4 separate regions of the Homo sapiens genome follow, and regions 2, 3 and 4 are each linked to region 1. The links are contacts of gene promoters, found by promoter capture Hi-C in human tissues and cell types (Jung and others, 2019). All regions are on one chromosome and are shown on one strand. Each heading gives the region's core, a stretch centred on a gene start or on the middle of the fragment in contact. The rest is flanking DNA. Distances are from core to core; before and after follow the strand shown. Region 1 holds the start of SMOC2 (SPARC related modular calcium binding 2). Region 2 overlaps SMOC2 (SPARC related modular calcium binding 2). Region 3 has its middle 57 kb from the start of SMOC2. Region 4 has its middle 39 kb from the start of SMOC2.

Region 1 (5,542 bases), core at 792-3,291:
ACACATGAGCTCCTCCAGATTTGAAAGGGGTTTCAAAGGCTCCAAACCTGCCTCATCTGTCAGAGTTTTGGACAAATGCATTTCATTTATCTTCCTAGAGTTCCCAGAGGATTCTGGAGTTGCTACATGAAAGACGTGTTGGGATTCTTGAATACAAGGCACGGAGGGCCAAGGATTTTCTTCTGTTCTCCATATTGCCAGAGGAAGTGACATGGATTTGCCAGTATTGCAGGTTTTAACATCTGCATTCTGTTTATGATTTTGTTGCTTAGGAGATCTGGCTAAGACATTTGGCCCCTTTGACTTTTGTTCCTCATCTGTAGAATGGGAATAATTAAGTCTGCTTCTTGTCTGCCATTCTTGCAGCGGACGATGGTGGATAAATGAACATGCTTTCAAACTTTTGAGTTCTGACGAGCAGTACTCTCAACAAAGTGGAAAGTGAAAAACAGGTTCTTTAGTAGCAAATACTTCTTAAAGGAAGTATGTCAGCTTCGAGTGTAAATTTTATTCTTTGGATAATCTTAGAATTAGTGGTATGTAGTGTTTATTTTCTTTTTACTTTAATTTTCACTGCAGTTCCCTAACAGTGATTCCTATTTACTTAATCATTTGCAGCTGCTCTGCTCACCTGTTTTTCTGGACCCAGGAGCAGTCCCTCAAGAGTTTTATTATAATTTCCTTCTAAGTCCTTAAACCAGGAGGAATGTGTTTAAGTGCTTAATAGATTCCCTGGGCTTTGGAATTTTAAGGAGAATTCTGAGAGTAGCCCTCCTTCAGGAAAAGGTGCATTTCTTTCCCGTCTTTCCGTGGCCCGACGGACATCACTTTCCTGATAAAATTGTGTGGGAAAGGTTGCAATAGCATTGCCTTTGCCTCAGCAGCCAGTCCCAGAACTTGCTGATACAGCCCCCTCCCCCAAAGTTCATAGCCAAAGCAGTGGGCTAGACATCGGATGAAACCTCAGATTTGGATTTTCTGTGTTTTGTGCTTTTCCCAATGCCCCTGACAAGTCAATTGATTCATTGTTCTTGAACAAATCTTCACTCTTCTGGCTTTCTGTGTGAGACAGAATTAGGGCTTTTTCCTGTAAAGTTATAAGCCAAGGCTAAACTATGTCAGCAATGTTGTCTGCAGTGGATATTATCCAGAGTCTGGGTGTGCAAAAATTTCCTGGTTTCCAACGTAGTCTTCGTGGGTGAGTTTACAACCTCCACAAGCCCTGTGCTCCCCGCACAAACACCTGAAATGCTTTGACAGAGCTGTTTAAAAACAGCCACATGTGTCTGTGAATGATGCCCAACCACATGCTCCCCCGACTTGAGAGGATCAAGGCTACAGCCCAGGTCAGACCCCGGATCTTTAGGACCTAAATTCCCCCATCCCTGCAGTGGATAACCCCGTGTAAAGATGCCAAAGGCGGGCTGCCCCCGGCGCAGCCTTTCCTGGACATGTGTTCCCAGCTGCCTTTGCTGGAGCGCCGCTGATCCTTCAGCACCTCTGAGAGGCAATGTTCTGGGCTGGACCAGGGGGCCTTAGAGGGCAGAGGTCAAGGAGAACCCCGGAGTCTGGGGACCGGCCAAGGCTTGGCGTTAACCTTTGTGGATGAAAAGTCCCGCTGGGCTGATCCTGCGCGGACCGGGCCTGGACCCTGGGGCGTGAGGAGGGCGCGGTGCGTCCCGTGGTTGTGCTTGGAAGCCCCCCGAGGGTGCGCGCGCGTGGGTATGAGTGCGTGCGTGTGCCTGGGTGTGCGTGTGTGTAAGTGTGCACGTGTGTGTGTGAGAGTGCGCGCGGGGAAGGAGGCACAGAGACAGCCCGGACAGGCCACTGCGCAGCCCTGGTGGCCCCCGCTCCACCTCTCGCTCCGCAGACCCGCGCCAGGGAGGCCTCTGGGCCGCAGCGGGCACCGGAGCGGAGCGGGCGCGGCAGCGGGCGCTGGGAGGTGGGGCTGGGGGAGGAGAGGGGGAGGGAGAGAGGCGGGCGGGAGGGGAGGATCCGGGAAGCTCCGGGGTATTTGACAGGAGCGAGGGCGGACGCAAAGAACGCGGAGGACCTCTGGGTGCCTGCAGGGGAGCTGCTCCAGCCGGGCCGCCGGGAGCGGTGGGGAGAGCATCGCGGAGCCGCCCCTCCACGCGCCCGCCCAGCCGCGCTCGCCCACTGGGCTCTCCCGGCTGCAGTGCCAGGGCGCAGGACGCGGCCGATCTCCCGCTCCCGCCACCTCCGCCACCATGCTGCTCCCCCAGCTCTGCTGGCTGCCGCTGCTCGCTGGGCTGCTCCCGCCGGTGCCCGCTCAGAAGTTCTCGGCGCTCACGGTAAGCCCGGGCCCGCGGGACCTGGAGCTCAAGTGGTGCCGCCTCTTGCAGCCGGCCGGGTTCGGGTCCCCGCGCCCCGCTCCAGGCCCAGGCGCCTGGGCACGGGGAGCAGGTGGCCCCGGGGGCCGTGGAGCCTTCGCCTGCCGGCGAGGCTGGAGCAGGTAGGACGCAGCGTGCGCGCCTGGGACCCGGCTGGGATGGGCTTCTGGGGACCCTGCCCGCCGGGGTCCTGCTGCGGCTGCGACGGGCTCCTCGGGTTCCACCCGGCTGGGACCCCACCTGCCTCGGGGGCTCTGACCCGGCTGTGAGAGGATCCTGGGGTCCTGCAGACCCCGGACAAGTGGGAGCTGCGGGTGCGCTCGGGTGTCCCGCACTCACTGCTGGGCCTGAGCCTGTGGGGAACCAGGTCTGGGAGCGCCGGCGCCGCCCCGCGGACTGTCCCAAGGCCAAGACAGACCCGCCGGGACTGGGCGCCCACCTCGCCCACGGGGACCCGGCCTGGAGCGTGTTCTCCCGACCGCTTTGGGCTCGTGCGCCGCGCGGATCCCGGGCCTCTCGCCGGCTGAAGGGGCTGCCAGTCGTGGGCCCCACTCGTGGGTCTGACTCTCCCAGAGACCCTCGTAAGTGAGCCGAGGAAGAAGCAGATGAGGTTACAGATGATTCTTCACGGGCCTGAGTGTTATTAGAGAAGCGCTTTCTTCCCTTCTCAGGACAGAACTGGAGGCAGGCGGCGGCTCCCCGCTCTGCGGGGCCTCTGGGTTCTTCCTCGTGGCAGGGATGCTGCGCTCCTGAGCGCGAGGGTCACCGCGGTTGACCGCTGTGTGTTTTTCTTTCTGAGCTGTAACTTCTATGCGACAGCCTTGGCCCGGCCAACGCACGCGGTGTCAAACGAGGAGCTATGTAGAGGGGGCTGAGCCAAGCCCCCGCCGGCCAAGCCAACCCGCGGCGGCCGCTGGGCCAAGGCCGGGTGTCTGCAGCCCCCAGCTCCAGCCGTCCTCCTGGGCTTGCAGGGTTTGCAAACCCATCATTAATGCAATCGCCAGAAACGAAAACATTCCACTTAAATGTGTTTTTGAACAAGTGTTTGAGAAAACACGAAGGTAGTGAGAACGCCTCTGGTGGACAGCCGTCTTTTTTAAGTGGCCGGGGACTTGTCCTAAAGGTGTTTATTGTATTGAAAATAAAGATGGTTGAAATAAGCTGTGGTCGGTTCTGCCTTTCAGCAAATTTAAAACAGTCATGTGGGCATCTTTTCTTTTTCTTTTTCTTTTTCTTCGTCTTCTTTCTTTTGCGTTTTAGCAGTGTGAAGGATGGTTTGTGAGTTCATTGCTCATACCTCAAATTCTTCTGCAGCAGCCCGGGGTCCCTGCCTTGTGTCTCACAAATGACTTGTAGATTAGAAACTGCTAACTGGGGCTCCAAGGAGGTTTTCACACACTCAGGCTTTCCCTGAAGATCCTTTATCTCCCCAGAGGGGGCCCTCAGAGGATACTCACTGGAGGCATTCATGTATATGCACATCTGTACATGCATCTAGACATAAATATACTCACGTATACACTCACAAAAAGACCCCCCACATACTCTTAAAGCACACTAGAGGAGACAGAGAAACTAAGGCCAATTCTCCAAAGGAGATCATAGCATTTTCTTCCAGGACTGTAGCAGCAGGTACCTACAGTTGCCACGGATTTTCAGATTTTCTGAAAGCGCAAAAAGTAGAGACTGCCATCTGCCTGCTGCCCTGTGTGTGTGGGGGGTGGGGTTGGGCCTGTTGGTCCCCCCTGGAAGAGCAGAATCAAGGTAGTTAGTAATTAGAACAGTTTAAGACTCGGCAGGTTTTCTTGTCTTCTCTCCCCTGTCTCATCTAACTATTTACTTGAACCCTCTCACCTTTTGCCCCCTTGAGGTTGCCCCAAGGATGTCTTGGGTTGCGGTGAGACCCGCTGCATGTGGGGTCTCTGTGCAGGAGCTGATACCCCACGTGGGCTTTGCCCTGTTGGCTGCATTCCCCAAGAACAGTTTGCCTGAAATTTACATTTGCAAATAAAATCAGTATCCCGAAGAAAAGATTAAAGCCATAACACATTTTGGCACACTTCTTCTCACCCCACCCCCAGTCTAGAAAATCAAGAAGTAGTTGAGTTACAAAGTAACTGAGGCAGGCCTGAAATCTGACTGGTCGCTGGGAGATGTGAGATGTGCAGGATTTTTCAGTGTGCTCATCTCTTTTCAAATTGCCTTCTGGTTTTTGGAAATCTCTTTTGTCTCCGGAGGCCCTCATTCAAAGAAGGGCCTTCTCTCCCTACGATTTGCATCCTACCTACTTTAATAAATCAAGAGGCAGTATCAGTCCATGCAGTGGGTGGGACCCACAGCTTAGGGTCTTGCTGGATGTGTGACTTCAGGCAAGTTACTTAATTTCATAATCTTCAGTCCCCTTATCTGTAAAATGAGAATACATAATCTCTTTCAAGCATGTGGTGAGGATTAAAGGTAGGGCTTTTAATGCGCCTACTATATGTGAGTTCTCCAGCTAACATTGTTTTGATGGTGCCCATGCCGTGGGTCCGTATAAGAGAGTGCTATCAATTGATACCGTAATTATCAATGCATATAGCGTTGTGGCATTAAGGTGTGTGTGGATTCAACTTTGCAGTATTTTCACCTGCCGCAGATTCTCAGAGCACACCACTTGGCTCTGGGTGTATCTGTGGACTTTGTGGGAGTAGCCATGTGGGACTCTATAGACCAAGGAGGAAAGCTTGCCTCTCTGCCTCCTTCTACTCCATTCATTTCTTCTCATCTAGAAGCAGGGAAATATGTCAGCCTCTCTGGGGCTTTCAGTTTGCCATACCTGGCTTCTCAGGACCACGCATTTGTCTTACTCACCTATGGTGAGTGTGCTTTCTTGGTGGGTCCAGCATTGCTGGTGTGCTCACCTCTGCTACTTTATGTTTAAGATTCAGAGAATCCACTTTGTCTGGTAATGATCTCTCTTCTTTCCACCAAAGTCATTCTTTAGAAATGGCACCATGAGGCCCTCTGTGTCTCTCATTGTGACTTTCTGATGGCTTTGCACAACTTCCTGGTTATTGCTCAGACCCTCTCACCTCCAGTCAACAATGGCATTCTTAAGTGTGTCCAATGCGCTCTTAATTTGGATGCAGGTCAATTTCTTCCTTGAAGAAGGAGGTACATTGAATGCCACACCGTGCCCATTTTCCTTT
Region 2 (5,542 bases), core at 1,498-3,997, 52 kb after region 1:
GGGCAGCTGGGGGCAGCGGGGGCGGCTGGTCTCACTCATTAAAAGGTGACCCCGTAGGACTCTGGAGAGGTCATTCCTGATGGCAGGAAATATTTCTGCATCATCTTGTGCAAGGGGGCAGCGGGGGCGGCTGGTCTCTCTCATTAAAAGGTGACCCTGTAGGACTCTGGAGAGGTCATTCCTGATGGCAGGAAATATTTCTGCATCATCTCATGCAAATCATTGCACATGCTGCTCACGCCAGCCTTGCTTCCATGCTCCTGAGTAATGCCGTGTTTTTGATCTTGGTCTTGTGGAAGCTGGAGAATTTGAACTATGAGGATGCAAGAGACAGATGATGCTGAACGGACATTAACTTTATTTTTATTAAAATCACAAGTTAACTCTCACAGGTGAAATTTTGGATGCTAAGATAATGCAAAGATGTTAGTTTCCATAACATCCGAATCATGGGATGAGAGTCAAGAGAAGAATTAGGAAAGGAGGTCTCCAAGACCTCATGGCAGTCTGAGAAGTTTCTGGCGGCTGGAAGGTGAAGACTGCTTGGTCTCATGATGATGTCACCCATGGAGCATCTTTTAAAATAAGTATTTGGGATCAATTCAGCTGTAAGATCCTCCTGGGCAACTCCCACCAGTCAGCCAGAGCTTCCTGTGCGTATGTAAAGATCAAAAACATTATTGATAATAACAATAAACTATTTAATAAAAATTTAAACCAAAACATTAATTTGATACTCTATTTAAAGTATCTGCATGAGCTGTGGGAATGTGTCTACTCTTGTCAGACACAGATACAGAAGAGCCATTGAGTTGACTTAATTGTGATTTTATTTTGTTATTTTTAAAGAGATTGCTTGTTGGCCGTATTATAAGTTAAAATTAAGCGGGAACCTTAACTGCAGAAATGATAAACCCCATGGAGAGTGAACTGTGCTGTTCATCATCTTAACTTCTCTCTGGAATAAGTGCAGGTATCGCTAACTACATCGAAATATTATTTTTAACCATTTTCGAGCCACCCACACATTCTCCCGCATTCTTCTTTTTGATACATTTCATTTTCTCACTTTAGAAGGAAGTCTCCTAATTCTGAATTTCTTTGAACATGGCTCAGTCTTACTGGTCTGCATCTGGCATTACTAATGCACTTAATTAAACAAAATAATGTCTCCCCAATTTTTTATTCATGGAAGAGAAATTACAGGTTGTATCTGAAGGGAATATTTCTCTTGAAAGGAAAAATATAGGACTTACCTATCTAAATGAGAAAAGTCAGTTGTATTTAAAATGGAAGTTTCAATTTGCCAAGCACATGAGAATACCGTTGGCTGGCCCCATCCTCTCCAAGATACGAGGCACACACACACATGCATGATGCTCATTTTTAATCCACAAGACACCCACCTACCTTTCCATAGTTTTCAGTTCACCTTCTATTTTCAAAGCAAGAACTATGCAAACATAAAGGAAGCTCTACCACCTCTCAGCCTGCTAGCCCTAGGCCAAGGGGCAAATTCGCACAACAATGGGTTGATCAAATCTGACCAATCTCAACTTCACAAAGTCACTCTTACAGGTGTCACTCAAAACCAACAACTCAGTCCAGTGATAAGGGTGAAAAAGTGTGGCAGAAAATATACACACAAGCATCTGTTACGAATTTCATAGTTATTACCACATGATTAAATAAAAAGTATTGCAGTGTGAGGTAGGTTTCTCTAAATCAACTTTTCTTTCAGTCTCAAGATGACGTGACCTACGAGGTTGATGACATTTTAGAGAGAGCACTGTCTCACAGGACAAAATGTGGATGGTGACCAGAGGCACATACCTGTCCTGACGCTCTCCCACCACCACAAAATAATTTGTCACTCTGAGCAAGACATTGCATTTCTCTGGCTTTAATATTGCCATCTATAGAGTACAGAAATGTGCCTTCTCTTCCTTGTGTTGTAGGTTTGTTAGGATCGAATGGAATCTGTTTCAGCATCACTGCATGACGTCGTAAGGCTGACTTTCCTTGAGCTCTCCATACATTGTGAAGGTAGCTTCAAAGGAAGAGTTCACAAATTTGAATGAAGACTAAATTGTTGGAATGTTTAGATATGCTCAAAAGTGATTTTTTTTTTTTGAGACAGAGTCTTACTCTGTCATCCATGCTGGAGTGCAGTGGCAGGATCTCAGCTCACTGCATCCTCTGCCTCCTGGGTTCAGGCAATTCTCCTGTCTTAGTATCCTGAGTAGCTGGGACTACAGGTACACGCCACTACGCCTGCCTAATTTTTGTACTTTTAGTAGAGACGAGGTTCCACCATATTGGTCAGGCTGGTCTCGAACTCCTGATCTCAGGAGATCCACCTGCCTCGGCCTCCCAAAGTGCTGGGATTACAGGTGTGAGCCACCACACCTGGCCTCAAAAGTGATTTAGTTAAAGAACTGACTTGAACATTTATCTGCATAAGTATGGATTTGTTAAAAACTTAATTCCTTTCCCTTCATAATCTTACTTTGTACAAGATCTTCTGTAGCTTTGCATGATGATGAAGGCAAATGTTTTGTGAATGATGTATGGATGGCAAAGTAAGTGACAAGTTTCCAGAAGCGAAGGAAAACTGTTACTGTTCAGAAAATGATGTTCAAAGTACAAAGGCCAAGATATCTTCAGAATGGAAACCACTGTGATAAGATCTGGCTGTCTAATAGTATTGCAACTTAAAATTATATTAATTTGATATATTAATATCAACATTTTAGGGATATTAAATCCTAGGTAGTTAAAATTAGCTTTTGACAAACAAGTTGACATTGCGGACATGATTTTATTTTTCAAAAAAGTGTATAAGTCCTAGTTTTTCTTTTCTTAGTTAAATGACAGCCAAGAAAATAAATTTCATCTGAATATTTATTTCATCAGACATATTAGTTTTTAACTGTCTTTATCTTTTCTATTTTAATTGGTTCTTGCTATTCAGTGTCTGCCAAGAATAACTTCCAGAGGAGTTGTTCTTCAAAAAACAAAATTAGATTCTATGTGGTAGCCACCTTTCATAAGTGCATTTGGTAACCTTAAAATATTATGAGTGTGGGATCATTCCGATGCCATTGGAACGATCCTGAAGTCTTTTCTCTGTTTCCATCATAAACCTCATTGTTTTCTTGGTTTGACATTATTCCAGGCATATTGGTCTGAATCTTGGCAAGTGTATTAGATGGTTATTCCAGATGTTACTAAGAGCAGTTTTCCTTCTACACGCTCTGAGTGCAAGCATTCTTCATGACATGGCAAAGCTAAGAGCAGCTTTCCTTCTACACACTGTGAGTGCAAGCGTTCTTTAGGACATGGCAAAGTTTTGGTCTGGGCTCAGGTAGTTCAGTGGTAGGGCAGGCATGTGATAAGCTGGTCTCCTTAGGTTTCAGCAGACACGCACCTAATGCGCACCCAACCAGTAAATACATGAAAAGAGTGAATACTTTGCCTCTCTTCTTCCTTCTCCTCTTTTTCTGAATTTAACACCTAGATAGACTTCTTCTTGGCTTTAGCCGAAACACTTTACTAGGGCTAAAGTGCCCATCAGAATCTTTTTGGATAAATGAACACACACAGCAAACATTTTCTTCTATGCATTTTCACAGCCAACAAGATAGGGGATCACTTCCTAAGCACGTTGAAAATGAGTGGGCAGTGCCCTTTGACTTACGCTGCTTAGAGTGCCACTGATTTCCTGGTAAGCCTAAGACTTGGAGGAGACGTGAATGGAGAAATGCACCTCTCCTCATACTGGGGTTTTGCGATTCTTTCCCAAAGGGCTGGGAGTGAGAGTGAACCCTCGGCTGGAGCAGCCCCATCCCAGCAGCTGAAGGGCAAGGGAGGTGGCTGGGAAGGGCGGGCACCACTTCGCTCCCAGCTGCTGGGATGGAATCACAGCCTTGTCTAAGTGCACTGGGCCTGGGAGGGCTGGGATGGACCATCCTGGCTGAGGCCTCCCTCTGCCTGCAGTTCCTGGGGAATAGGGAACCTCCCTTGGGCCGGGGTGTGCTCACCTCGCTCGGCCTTGCCCCTTCCCTCATGCCTGCATCCTCCAGGCCCCGCCTCTGGCACCTTCCTGAAACCCGCAGGGAACCTGCTCACACCATGACCCTTCTCAGAGGGTCTAAGGTAAGAGCAAAACAGGGTGGGCTCAGGACACAGACACCTCCTGGCTCAGAGTGGTTCCAGGAAAGCCATGCTCCTGCGCCCTATGTGGGCTCCTGCAGACCAGGCTTTGTCTTGCTCTGAGTGAGTCACAAAGGAGGGACCTCCGGCCAAGGGAAAGGCTCCTTGTGGCCCAGGTGTAGGTCCCTCTGCGGGTCCACCCCCCTCTAACTGAGGCCCTGTGGAAAGCCCACCGTGGCAGGTGGATCTTCTTCACTTCCTCTCTCAGCCACTGGCTGACGCCAGCCAGGGTGACCTTGTCCGCGGCTCCCGGTGCCCACCGCTGGGGTCGCTTCCAGAGCTCCAACATTTTCCTTGGGAACCTGAGTTTTTAATTCTATCTCTTTGTCACATTTAATTTTTCTATAAAGTACAGATCGTAGATGTGGGATGCTGTGAGCACCTCCCGAACGATAAATGAGTGTGTGTTTGCTGTGGTGGCAGCCCTGAAGTTCGCAATGCCCGGGAAGCGTTTGGTGAAACTTTAAAGAAAGCCCAGGTGACTCCTCCTGGGGAGCAGCGCTTCGCAAACACCTCAGGCCTGCGTCTGCCACTCCCACACTGCCTGCCCCCTTTGGCCACAGGACACAGGCGTGACCCGGGTCACAGGGCTCTGCTAGCTCATGGCTTCACTCACCTGCGCGGTTCCCTGGCAGCCTCACCCACCTGCAGGGTTCACCTGGGGGCTCCACCCACCTGTGCAGTTCCCCATGGTGGCTTCACCCACCTGCACGGTTCACCCACCCACACGGCCCGCCCTGCCCTCCTTGGCCTCCTCACCGATGAGCGGTCAGGGCCGGGCCGAGCTGGGAGCTCAGGCCTCAAAGCCTATGGGTGCCCTGCATGCATTTCCTCTCGCCTCCTCGCTCTTTTCTTTTAATGTCTAAAATACCTTTGAAGTCCCTCAAAATCCTCTGTACTCCCTCCACAAAAGTCTCCAAGCTTCTCATCCTCCTGTAATTAAGGTGTTTCTATTCTCTCTGTAATTAAAAGTGTGAATTTCAAGACACTGTTCTTAAGTTACTCTGCTTGGCATTTAGGATTTGTTCGATTGGTCACAGAGCCTGGAAGCTTTTCGGTACTCATCTTGTTGCAACTGTTTGTTTCTTGGGCATTTTGTGGAAAACACTGGGGTTTGGGAAGGCAGGGTGGGGAGTGCTTGCCCTGCAATCCCTGTTTCTAGATAACACTGTCTGGAAGAGCTGTCTGCAGTGATGGAAATGATTTATGAGCTGCCTTGTCCCAGACAGCAGCCACTAGCACAGGAGGCCATGAGGACTCAACACATAGCAAATGAGCGACTGTCTTCAGATTTTACTTCATTTTAGTTAATTTAAACGTGAATAGA
Region 3 (5,542 bases), core at 2,226-4,725, 56 kb before region 1:
CTACCACCCACTGCCAGCAGGGCTGCTGGACTCCACGATGTGGTCACGTTTCCACCAGACACCCATCCACCACCCACCGCCGGCAGGGCTGCTGGACTCCACGAGAGTGCGTGAATGACAGCATGAGCTGGTGCCAAAACTTTCCGTTCGGAGCCTCATGGGCTTTCAGCCGGTGACCGCCCAGAGCGGCCCTGTGGCCTGTGGACACATAGACAGGTTTTCTGCCCAGGATGGTCATAGGTCTTTAATTTTTCCTGCTTATTATTTTTAATCTGGAGAGAAACCAAAAATGATGGCTGGTGCAGGGTTGGATTGAGACGCAATTGTGACATAGGTCCATTTGAAATGCTCCCGACCCCCCTGCCTGCCACTTTCTGTCTGATGCCCCTGGCTGCATGCGCTTGCAGGTGAGCCCCCCGCCTGCTGCTTTCTGTCTGACGCCCCCAGCTGCATACGCTTGCCTGTGTTGTTCATAACGCCCGGTGCTTTGCTGGGTAACGTCGCCAAGGGTTCTCCAAACCTTCAGAAGTGCCCTACGCAGCTGTTACTCAAACTAAAGGGCTGTGGCAAATTAGGTAGAACCAGGACCGTGAAGTCTGGGAGGTGAAAGCTTTAGGGGAAAGAGGCAGGAATTACTTTGTGCTGGGCACGTGTGAGAGCCTAAGAATTCTGTCATGCACTCGCTGCTTATTCCACGTAATTTAAAATTTAAAATCCTGGTGAGCCGGCATTAATGTCCTAATTTTACAGACATGGAGACAGGATTTCACAGAGGCTAACTCCCTTGTTTAATGTCACAGAGTCCTGTGCTGGGATTCAAAGCCAGGGCTGCCCAGGTCAGCTGATGGCAGCAAGTTCTTCAGGAACTCAACCTACAATGAGTTAGCTTTGCTTCTGAAAACACCACTGGAAGGCCACCATCAGTGGCGTATTTTATGGACACTCTCCACCCCCATCCAGCTGTGGACACAGGGCCGTAAGCCTCAGTACCCCTGGAAGGCCACCATCAGTGGTGTATTTTATGGACAGCCCCCACCCCCACCCAGCTGTGGTCACAGGGTACTGAGCCTCGGTACCCAGGGAGAACATGGGGCGGACTTCTCCGTGATCTGATCAAATATTTGGTCAGCTTCCAGGACAAGAGGTGACCCAGCAGATGGGGTTTAGACACTGCAATATTGGTGCTGAGGAGACATTTTGCACGGGCCTTCAGAAGGAAGGAGAAAGTGTGGACCATTTGTGTGTGTGTGCATGTGTGTGTGTGCGTGTGTGCGTGAGTGTGTGCATCCATGCATATTTGCATGTGTGTATATTTGCGTGTGTGCATGTGCGTGTGCATGTGTGCGTGCGTGTGTGCATGTGTTTGTATGTGCATGTGCGTGTGTGCATGTATGTGCGTTTGCATGTGTGTGTGCATGTGTGCACGTGCATGTGTCTGCATGCCTGCATGTGTGTGCATGTGTGTGCATGCGTATTTGCATGTGTGTGCGTGTGTGCATGCATACATGTGTGCGTGAGTGTGCATGCATGCATATTTGCATGCGTGTGTGCACGTGTGTGCGCATGTGCGTGCGTGTGTGCACGTGCATGCATGTGCATGTGTTTGCATATGTGTATGTGTGCATGCGTGTGTGCATGTATGCGTGTTTGTGTATGCATGTGTGCGTGCGTGTGCATGCGTGCGTGTTTGCATGCGTGTGTGTGCATGTGTGTGTTTGCATGCGTGTGTGTGCATGTGTGCATGTTTGCATGTGTGTGCATGCATGTGTGTGCATGCATGTGTGTGTGCGTGCGTCTGTGTGCATGTGTGTGCGTGTGTGTGCACGCGTGCATGTTTGCGTGTGTGTGCGTGCGTGTGTGTGCGTGTTTGCATGCATGTGTGTGCGTGTGTGCATGCGTGCATGTGTGCGTGTGTGTGCATGCGTGTGTGTGCGTGTGTGTGCATGCATGTGTGTGCGTGCGTGTGTGCGTGTGTGTGCGTGCGTGTGTGTGCATGCGTGGCAGTTTTAAGTTACTAGTTTTTAAAGTCAGCACATTTTCATTGAATCAACTTGGTCAAAATCTATTACAGAATTTGGAACCCATTAAAGGAAAGTTCAGTGAGAAGCCCGTGTCTTCTCTTGGTCAACAATGGAACTTCTATGGAAATACTTAGGCAAAGACTTGAGTTTCCTTTGACCAACTTCTGGTGTTGAATCTGCTGAAGCTTGATAGGAATTTGATCATTCTCGGTTAGTAGTTTTTTTCTGGGTGGAATTGCTTTTTCACTACCTGTGTGTAAGGGGAGGAATCATCTGTCCTAAGGACCTGGTGGAAGCTGAAAGGGGCTCTGTTGGTTTCTACATAAAAGTGAAGAGTAAGTCTGTCCCTAAACTGCCTGGGCAGAAGGCCGGCTTCTCCCGGCAAAGGCCACGTGACACATGGAGAATTCAACAGCAACACTGAGTAAATGTGTTGGAATCTCACATTTTAGTTTCCCAGTTACTGACTGTGCATTCCCACATTTACAATTATTGAAGTACGTTCAAGAATGTAGAGTGTGAGCTTTATATAGTCTTGAGCAGTGCCCTGCTTTTAAGAGTGAATTATTTTTTAAATGGAAATGAGACTCATCTCTCCTGGATCTGAAGCTTGCCGTCAACTACCAGGACCTGAGACTCCCCCCGGCGCTTCCCATTTTCCTCAGGAGGAAGCCCTGTTGTTTCAGTGGGTGTGTGGTGAAGGGCAAGTTCTCCTAACGTGAACGTCATTAATGAAAGTTCTGCCATTTTTCTTCTTCTTTGTGAACAGCCCTTACCTGGTGAGCTGGGGAAACGGGGCCACAGGGGAGTCAGGCCTATGGGGGTGTCCGGACAGAGGGGCCGGGTGCGTGAGCCTTCCGGGGTGCCTCCGCCAGGCTTGAGCATTCTGTTAGTCCGGGCAGAGAGAACATGCTTTTCTAAGTCAAAAACCACTCATAAATCATGGGTTAGGAGTTACAACATCACCACAAATCCAGCGCTGCTCAGAGTTAAAACACGTCCTCGCCCCGCACACGCACAGGCTCTCTCTGTGCCATCACCATCCATCTGGTCTCCGGGGCCCATTTCTGGAATGTGAGGAGACAAGAGTTTGGGGCGCGCTTGCCGCTGTCCTCACGGACTCCTGGGGCAGCCCCAGGCACCCGCGAGAACCCGCCCCCCCAACCACCGGCCAACTTGGAGGCAACAAAGAGTGAATCAGAAATGCATGGCTGACATTTCCCTGAAAATAAATATATGCTAAAAAGTTAAAGAGAAATGTGGTTGGCCAAATGCATTTGGGGTTTTAATCAAACCAAAGTTATGTGAAAAACAGCCTGAAATACTCAAGTCACAGAGGCCTCAGGCGAGGGTCCATGAAGTCCCCCTCGGCACTCGTGTGTGGGTGGGACAGGGCCGGTCCTGACTTGGCCCCCTCCTTCCTCCCTGGGGCTTCTTCCCGGGCGCACAAAGCCAGGCAGGGTTAATAATGTTTATTACGTGCTTTGATGAGACGCTGTCTATTTGAAGCAACTAAGATCAGTTTATATATTGAATCTGAAATAAACATACCCATATGAAGATAATTTTTTTTCAAATTTTCCTTCTTTCGAGAGGCCCAATATAATCTTTTTGCTGCTTTACGGAGACTGCACACGTCCTTTGAAAGCATTGAGGAGGGAAACAAAGCTAAGTGGCTGGTGGAGCTGCCCCCGCTGAATCTGGGCATAATTCCATCTCAAACGAAAGTGGGCGGAAGAGCTATGAAAACAATTTTGGAAAGGTGGCCGGCTGTGAATCAACACCTTGGGGAATATTTAGGAACCTCACTGAATTTGCCTGTGGACATAGCAACTGAGTGTCCCAGCGCACATGTAATATCGTGAAGTTGTCCTGTCCCGAATTCTGATGCACAAGAAAGGGCAGGAGCAGAGGCCTGCGTGGTTCGTGGATCGCCCAAGTGCCAGTTCTGCCTTTGCTCTGATGCCAAACCAAGGAGGTCTGCATTTTCATCTGGGAAGGGGATGGAGTATCTGTGCCCCTGGCAGGACCATGTGGAAAGCCTTCTGCTCCACCCGTGGGAAGCCAGACCATGGTCTTGCTCACATTCTGAGAGACAGGGACCTTTGGGGATTGGCACACAGAAATAATTCGGATGCATCCTCCCAGCAAGCAGGGCACCTCTGTGTCTGCCGGTGGGTCTGGCTCTGGCTTTGCAGCTGCAGGTCTTGCAAAGCCATGGGAGCTGCCTGCCAAGCTGCTGGTAGCTGGAGGCCTTGGCCGAGGTGGGCTGCAGTGCATGTGCCCGCACAGGTGTGCCCACCCAGGTGTGCCTGCTCAGGTGTGGGGCTTGTCTCACACACTCCTTGTGCCAGTTTTTCCTCCCAGCTGGAAGTCAACAGGGACAAATAGCCCCAGGCCCCTTAAACTGGAAACTGTCAGTCACCCATTCCTCCTGGTCTGAAGTGTGTGAGAGAACATGGTGCTTTGTACACACATGTGAATGTGGACAGCATTGCATGTGTGTCCCACGTGTCCCATGGAGGCTGCTGGGCTGTTACAGCCGTTCTTGCAGAAACAAGCTGAATTCTTGCTTTCAGGTTATAAAAAAGACCTGGCACTGCACTGGAGGTTGTGGGACCTTCTGCTAACATTTGGCCTGGGGATGCTGGAAGATCCCTAACCCTTGGTGAGACACCCTTGGAGGCTGGCTGAGGGCACCACCTTCCTGTGAGTCCCTACCACAGCCTGGCAGCGCTTCCAGCCATCTGGCTGGGCTTGCCGCACACCTGGGCTGATCCCTGTCCCTGACTGGGAGCCACACTTCACCCAACAGCTTTCCTTTCTCTTTTAGGAGGGGTGAGGGTGGAAGGAAAGACAGGTTTGATTGAAAACCAGGTGGACTTTTGCAGATTTATTTTTTAATTTTGCATTTCTTTGAGTCACAGAATCCAAAAGTAGTTTTGTGGATGCAAACACATAATTAAGGCAAACAGCAGCAAAGGGGACATGAGGGGTGGAGCCCCCTCTCCACCACTGTTCACCAGCATTTCTGTGACCCAAGGGGACGTGAGGGATGGAGCCCGCTCTCCTCCTGTGTGCACCAGCACTGCTGTGACCATTGGTGTCATTCTTCTTTAATGGAGGGTCCTGTGCTTGGCTTCAAAGGCCTCCTCCAGCTGGGCCACCTCAGGCAATTTCCTGCCTGGTTTTAACTCATCATGTGTGTGTATATCATGCGTGTATGTGCCATGTTGTATATGCAGGGCATGTATGTATATGCCACGTGTGTACTCGCCAGGTGCATTTACGTCGTGTGCAGATGCCGCATGTGTATACACCACGTGTGTATACATGTGTGTTCATCGTATATATGCATCATATACATTTAAACTAAAGCCCCTGCAGGCATGTGCTGGTCCACCCCTGCCTTGAGTGCCTGCACACATCCAAGTTCAGGGCTAGTTCTGGGCAGAACTGGGGTCTCGGGGGCTTACCCCTGTCAGGGCTCCAGGGCTGGGGAGCCTTTCCCATCCTGAGTT
Region 4 (5,542 bases), core at 1,380-3,879, 39 kb before region 1:
CTGGGCAACAAGAGTGAAACTACATCTCAAACAAAAAACAAAAAGTGTCCAGAAAGAACCAAAAATTGTTCCCTACAAAAACAGGAACCAGATCTGCAAAAATCTCATTATACAAACTACCATACACTTAAGGGAGAAAAAGAGAAATAACTTTGAAGTGATGAGGAAGAGTGATTTTGAACCCCAAATTCACAAACTAATAGTAAGTGTGAGAAGGGGAAAATGAAGGCATTTTCAGACCAATTGAGAATAATAAAATTTACCTTATACATTGACATTGATTTTAAAAGACCAATTTTCTTTAGTAAATCATACAAGGAATCTAGAAAACAAGGATGACGTGGGATTGATTTAAGTAGAAATGGAATTAATCCAGGAATTCAGTGGTGAAGAGACCAGGAGGATAGCTGGGCAGGGATCCTAGAAATCAGTTTGGAAGAGGCAGTCAGAGCCCCTGGAAGACACTCTTCAAAGAGGAAGCACATTCCGTCCAAGAAGCTTCATGATGGAAGACCCAGAGGAACAGGGCTATGTGAGGAAGGCATGTGCTGTCTGCAAGAAACCAAGAGAAAACAAATAACTAGTTGGAAACCCTGAGAAAACAACTACAAAATACTCACCATCCACATGCATTGGCTCCCATCCCCTCTGGCCCTTCTCCAGCCCCTGCCCCTCATTGCTTCCTCTCCGCTGGATTTTTTCCATGGCCATAAAAATATGCTGTTTTCCTCCTATCTCCAAAAAAACCCCTCCCACTTGACTTCACTTTCTCCCTCATTTAGTGCCCTGTTTCTCTGTTGGTGTTTATATCAGAACCCCCCAACATGCTCCCTCCACTTGCTGTGTGCCTTTCCTCCTGGCTCCTCTTGAATCCACTCTTCTGCCCCCTCACCGATGCTGGTAATGACAAGGTCCCAGGCACCTCTCCATTACTAAAAGCAACTGTGCGTTCTTCATGTTCCTCTTCCCAGATCTACCAGCAGCATGTAGCACAACCTCACCCTCATCTTTAAAATCCTTCCTTCCTGTAACACCTGAGGCCCCCACTTTCTGGCATTCATCCTGCCTCATGTTTCTTCCTTAGTCTTATTCTGCCCCAACATCACCCAACTCGTAACATGGGAGTAGCACGTGGCCCCGGGCTTGGACTTTCTTGTTGTCCTGTCTTCTTCCACTTCCTTGCTGATTGAATTAGGCAGAGTTCTCCAGAGAAATAAAACCAATAGGATGGATGCATAGATAGATGATAAATAGATAGAGATAGAGATAGATGGAGAGATATCTGTTACAAAAAATTAGCTCATGTGATTATAGAGGCTGAGAAGTCCCATGATCTGCAGCTGTTACGCTGGAGACCCAGGAGATCCCAGGCTTCAGTTCCAGTCTGAAGGTAGCAGGCTTGAGGCCCCAGTAGAGCTGGTGTTTCCATTTCAGACCAAGGGCAGGAAAAGACCACTGTCCCAGCTCCACAGAGAGGCAGGAGGAGGTCCCTATTCTTTGGCTTTTTTGTTATGTTCAGACTACCAACTGCTTGAGTGAGGCCCACTCACATTGGGGAGGGCAATCGGTGAGTTCAGTCCACCATTCAAATGTTCATCTCATCCAAAACACCCTCAGAGACACATCTGGAAATAACACTCAATGAAATGTCTGGGCACCCCATGGCCCAGTCAAGTTAATGTAAAATTAGCCACAACAATCCACTTCTTGTCAACGTGGCACCCGTACACATCTCCTCAAAGCATACTTAATCTCAAAATGAAGATAATCATAAGGTCATAATTCTGCCTATCATGATATAACTGTCCTGAGTACAACCAAAAATGCACTAGCTCCTTCCCGCAAAAGAAAGCAAAGTCCTTGGATGATGTTTTTGCTTCTATTTGATATCCCATGATTTAAATAGTATAATGTAAAATGAACAATACTTAATACTATGATATAAAGTCAATTCATCATCTGTTACATAAGGTAATGAGAGAAGAGAAAACATATATATATACACATATATATAAATTAATCTTATTAAGGTCATAAGGAAAAATTATGACCTTATTATTGTCTTTATTTTGAGATTAAGTATGATTTCAGGAGATGTGTATGGGTGCCAAGTTGACAAGAGTTGGACTTGTGGATAATTTTATGCATCTACTTGACTGGGCCATTCATACACACACACCACACACACACTCTCAAACACACTCTCACACACATTCACATACACACACACTCACACTCATAACAAAATAAGGATAAAATCCTCATGAGGAGTACAGCCCTTTTTCCTGTAACTGGTCCCATGGTCATAGCTGGTATTTACAACACGTCACTGGTAACTGATCCCATGGTTATAGCTGGTATTTACAATGACTTTCTTCTACTACCCACTCTGTGTTCCCTTTGCTGTTAGCAAGCACCTCAGCTGCTCATGGTTCTTTACCTATAGACTATCTTCATTCTTGAAGGTTCTGGGCCATTTGTAGTCCTACCTGGATTAGGTTGAGTTTTCCACTGACCTTAATCACAGGGCAGGGTAATACTAAGATACAGCCTCAGAAATCTCCTGTATTCCAGACACACTCTTGCTTACCTCCACTGTGGAGTAGTATAGGCCAATTTCTTCTTAGAAGCCAGGATCCATCACCCCAGCTGCACAGGGACTCTCTTCTTTGCATATGGATTCAGAAGCAGAAGGAGCCCGAAGTTGCAGAGCATTGGTCTTAACTTCCAGTTCAATGGAATCAGTGCTGTGTCTGCCGGTGGAAGCATGCCTTTCTTTGCATTCTTTGTCTTAACTTCCAGTCCAGTGGGATTAGTGCTGTGTCTCCTGGTGGAAACATGCCTTTCTTTGTATTCTTTGTAACTAGGACCTCTAGGTTAGCAGAGCATAAAGTTGGAAGCAAAAATGTTGTCAATGGGTCACTAGGGGTGATAGGGAGTGCCACTCCTATTTCCACCTCTTGATTCCTGGAGCATGATTATGGCTCTAGGAGAAAGGGTGCCATTATTGGACACAGATTCAGAACACACACAGCCTTCTGGAGAACCCTGCCCCAGCCCACAGGGTACTGCCACCTAGCTGATGCTGTAACTGCATCTTCTAAAGCCATTCCGTGGTTCCATCAAGCCAGCTGCCTCAGGATGGTAGAGAACACAGTAAGACCCTGAATTCCAGGAGCATGGGCCCATCGTTATACTTCTTTTGTTGTGAAGTGAGTTCCTTGATCAGAAGCAATGCTGTATTCTGTAAGCTCATGGATGGTAGGTTTGGCAGAAGTGTTGCATTCAGGGAAGGAAGATGCAAACCTAGAGTATCTATTCAAATAAAGACAAAATACTGCCCCTTCCATGATGGAATCGATCCAATGTAATCCCACCCCAAGTAGCTGACTGATCACCCTGGGAGTGGTGCCACATTGGGGGCTCAGTGTTGCTCTCTGCTGCTAGCAGATTGGCCACGCAATGGCTGTTGCAGTGAGCAAAAGTCCGTGTCACTGAGCCCATGCATATCCTCCATCCCTGCCATCAAGGCCACTTGGTTCCTGAGCCCAATAAATAATGACAGTGGGGACTGGGGAAAGAGGCTGAGTGGTATCCACACGACGGTCATCCTAGCCACTTGATTACTAAACTCCTACTCTGCTGAGGTCACCCTTTGGTGAGTGTTCACATGTGATGCAAATGTCTTCATGGTTATTTTTTTGCCCACTAAGAGAGGTTTATGCACATATCTTTCCCCTAAATTCTCTTGTTCCCAATTTTCTAATCATGTTCCTTCCAAGTTCCTGACCATCCAGCCACACCATTGGCTACAGCCCATACACGGATATGTAAGCATACATCTAGAATTTCTCCTTCTAGGCAAAGTGCACAACCAGATGCACTGCCTGGAGTTCTGCTGACCAGGCAGGTTTCCCTTCACCATGTGCTTCAGGGACGTCCCCGAAAGGGGCTGCAGTGCTGCTGTCGACTTGTGGGTGATGCCTCTGTGTAGTGCAGAACCATCTGGAAGCCAGGCTCTAGCCTTGCTTTCTCTGTCAAATGATCACAGGGAACTCTCAGTGGGGACACAGGTGCAGGCTGAGACAGAAGGCAGGGGAGCAGGGGTGGAGACTGTGGGCATTTGCACCACTTCTTTATATAACTTACTTGTGCCCTCAGGACCTACTGGTGCCCGATCCCATGCACGCCCCCTTCCATTTGAGGATGGAGTGTCACTGTGCATGCTCAACTTTACGGCTTGGCGGGTCAGATACTCTAGATATGAATTTTCTGTCCCCGAATGCAATGTTTCTGCCAAAACTATCACCCATGTCTTTACAGAATGCCTTATCTGCCATCATGGTATTCATGCAGCATTGCTTCTTATCAAGGGACTCACTTCACAACAAAAGGTATCATAAGCTTATAATAATCCACTGTCATTTTCCAAGAGCCTGTCTTCTGCACAAGCCAAACAGAAGAGTTGAATGGAGATGTGGTGGGAATTGCTACCCTTGCCTCCAAGCCTTCGATGGTGGCACTAATCTCTGCAATCCCTCCAGTTCATGAAGGGCAGCTCAGATCACATAGCAACATGGTGGGTCAACAGCTTAGCATTCAGGCCGGGGGCAGTGGCTCATGCCTGTAATCCCAGCACTTTGGGAGGCCAAGGCACATGAATCACTTGAGGTCAGGAGTTCGAGACCAGCCTGGTCAACATGGCAAAACCCCATCTCTACTAGAAATACAAAAATTAGCCAGATGTGGTGGCACGCACCTGTAATCCCAGTTACTCAAAAGGCTGAGGCAGGAGACTTGTTTGAACCCGGGAGGCGGAGGTTCCAGTGAGCTGAGATCGTGTCACTGCATTCCAGCCTGGGCAACAAAGTAAGACTTCATCTCAAAAAAGAAAAATAATAGCTTAGCATTCAGTCTGCTAGGGCCAACTAGCAGGCCAAGAGCTGGTACTCCAAAGGGGAATAATTATTCACAGAGGATGACAAGTCTTTGCTCTAAAATCCTAAGGCCCTGCACTAAGATTCACCTATAGGGCCCTGTCCAAGGCTCCTCAGGGCATCCCTGTCTGCCACTGACACCTCAAGCACTGCTGGCTCTGCTCCAGCAAGTGGCCCAAGTGGCAGAGCAGCGGACACAGCAGGCTGCACCTGTTGCAGTGCCTTCTCCTGCTCTGGGCTCCACTCAAAACCAGCAGTTTTCTAGGTCACTCAGTAAATGGGCTGGAACAGCACACTCAAGGAAGGAATGTGTTGCCTTCAAAATCCAAGTAGGCCTGCTAAGCATGGTGCCTCTTTCTTGGATGTAAGAGGGGCCAGATGCAACAAGCCTTTCTCCACCTTACAAGGGCTCTCTTGACAGGCCCCACACCACTGGACCCCTAGAAATCTCACTGACTTAGAGGGCCCCTGAATTTTTGTCAGATTTATTTTCCACCATTGAAACATAAATGTCTCACCAATAACTGTAAGGCGGTTGCTACTTCTGGCTCACTAGGTACCACCAGCACAATGTCAATGTAATGGGCCAGTGTAACATGTGGAAG

Evidence for each region. The method cuts DNA at HindIII sites, captures the fragments that hold promoters and counts their contacts. A contact is called where the count stands out against the background at its distance.
Region 2: a fragment that was not itself captured here is called in contact with the fragment with the promoter of SMOC2 in region 1 in 2 of the 25 tissues and cell types used here (pancreas and stomach).
Region 3: a fragment that was not itself captured here is called in contact with the fragment with the promoter of SMOC2 in region 1 in 5 of the 25 tissues and cell types used here (H1 embryonic stem cells, aorta, bladder and 2 more).
Region 4: a fragment that was not itself captured here is called in contact with the fragment with the promoter of SMOC2 in region 1 in 2 of the 25 tissues and cell types used here (bladder and stomach).

The regions. Positions count from the first base shown.
Region 1 is chr6:168,439,143-168,444,684 of GRCh38, forward strand. SMOC2 (SPARC related modular calcium binding 2) reads left to right here and starts at 2,042. Exons shown (of 13, transcript NM_001166412.2): 1 at 2,042-2,312. The coding sequence starts at 2,229. The HindIII fragment of the contact is 15,076 bases long and covers 1-5,542 here.
Region 2 is chr6:168,490,922-168,496,463 of GRCh38, forward strand. All of the region lies in intron 1 of SMOC2 (SPARC related modular calcium binding 2), which reads left to right. Among named protein-coding and RNA genes, the nearest start is that of SMOC2, 53 kb to the left of the region's middle. The HindIII fragment of the contact is 4,906 bases long and covers 295-5,200 here.
Region 3 is chr6:168,381,826-168,387,367 of GRCh38, forward strand. No RefSeq gene overlaps it. Among named protein-coding and RNA genes, the nearest start is that of SMOC2, 57 kb to the right of the region's middle. RefSeq lists enhancers at 1,214-1,715, 1,716-2,215. The HindIII fragment of the contact is 4,135 bases long and covers 1,409-5,542 here.
Region 4 is chr6:168,399,655-168,405,196 of GRCh38, forward strand. No RefSeq gene overlaps it. Among named protein-coding and RNA genes, the nearest start is that of SMOC2, 39 kb to the right of the region's middle. The HindIII fragment of the contact is 5,480 bases long and covers 1-5,369 here.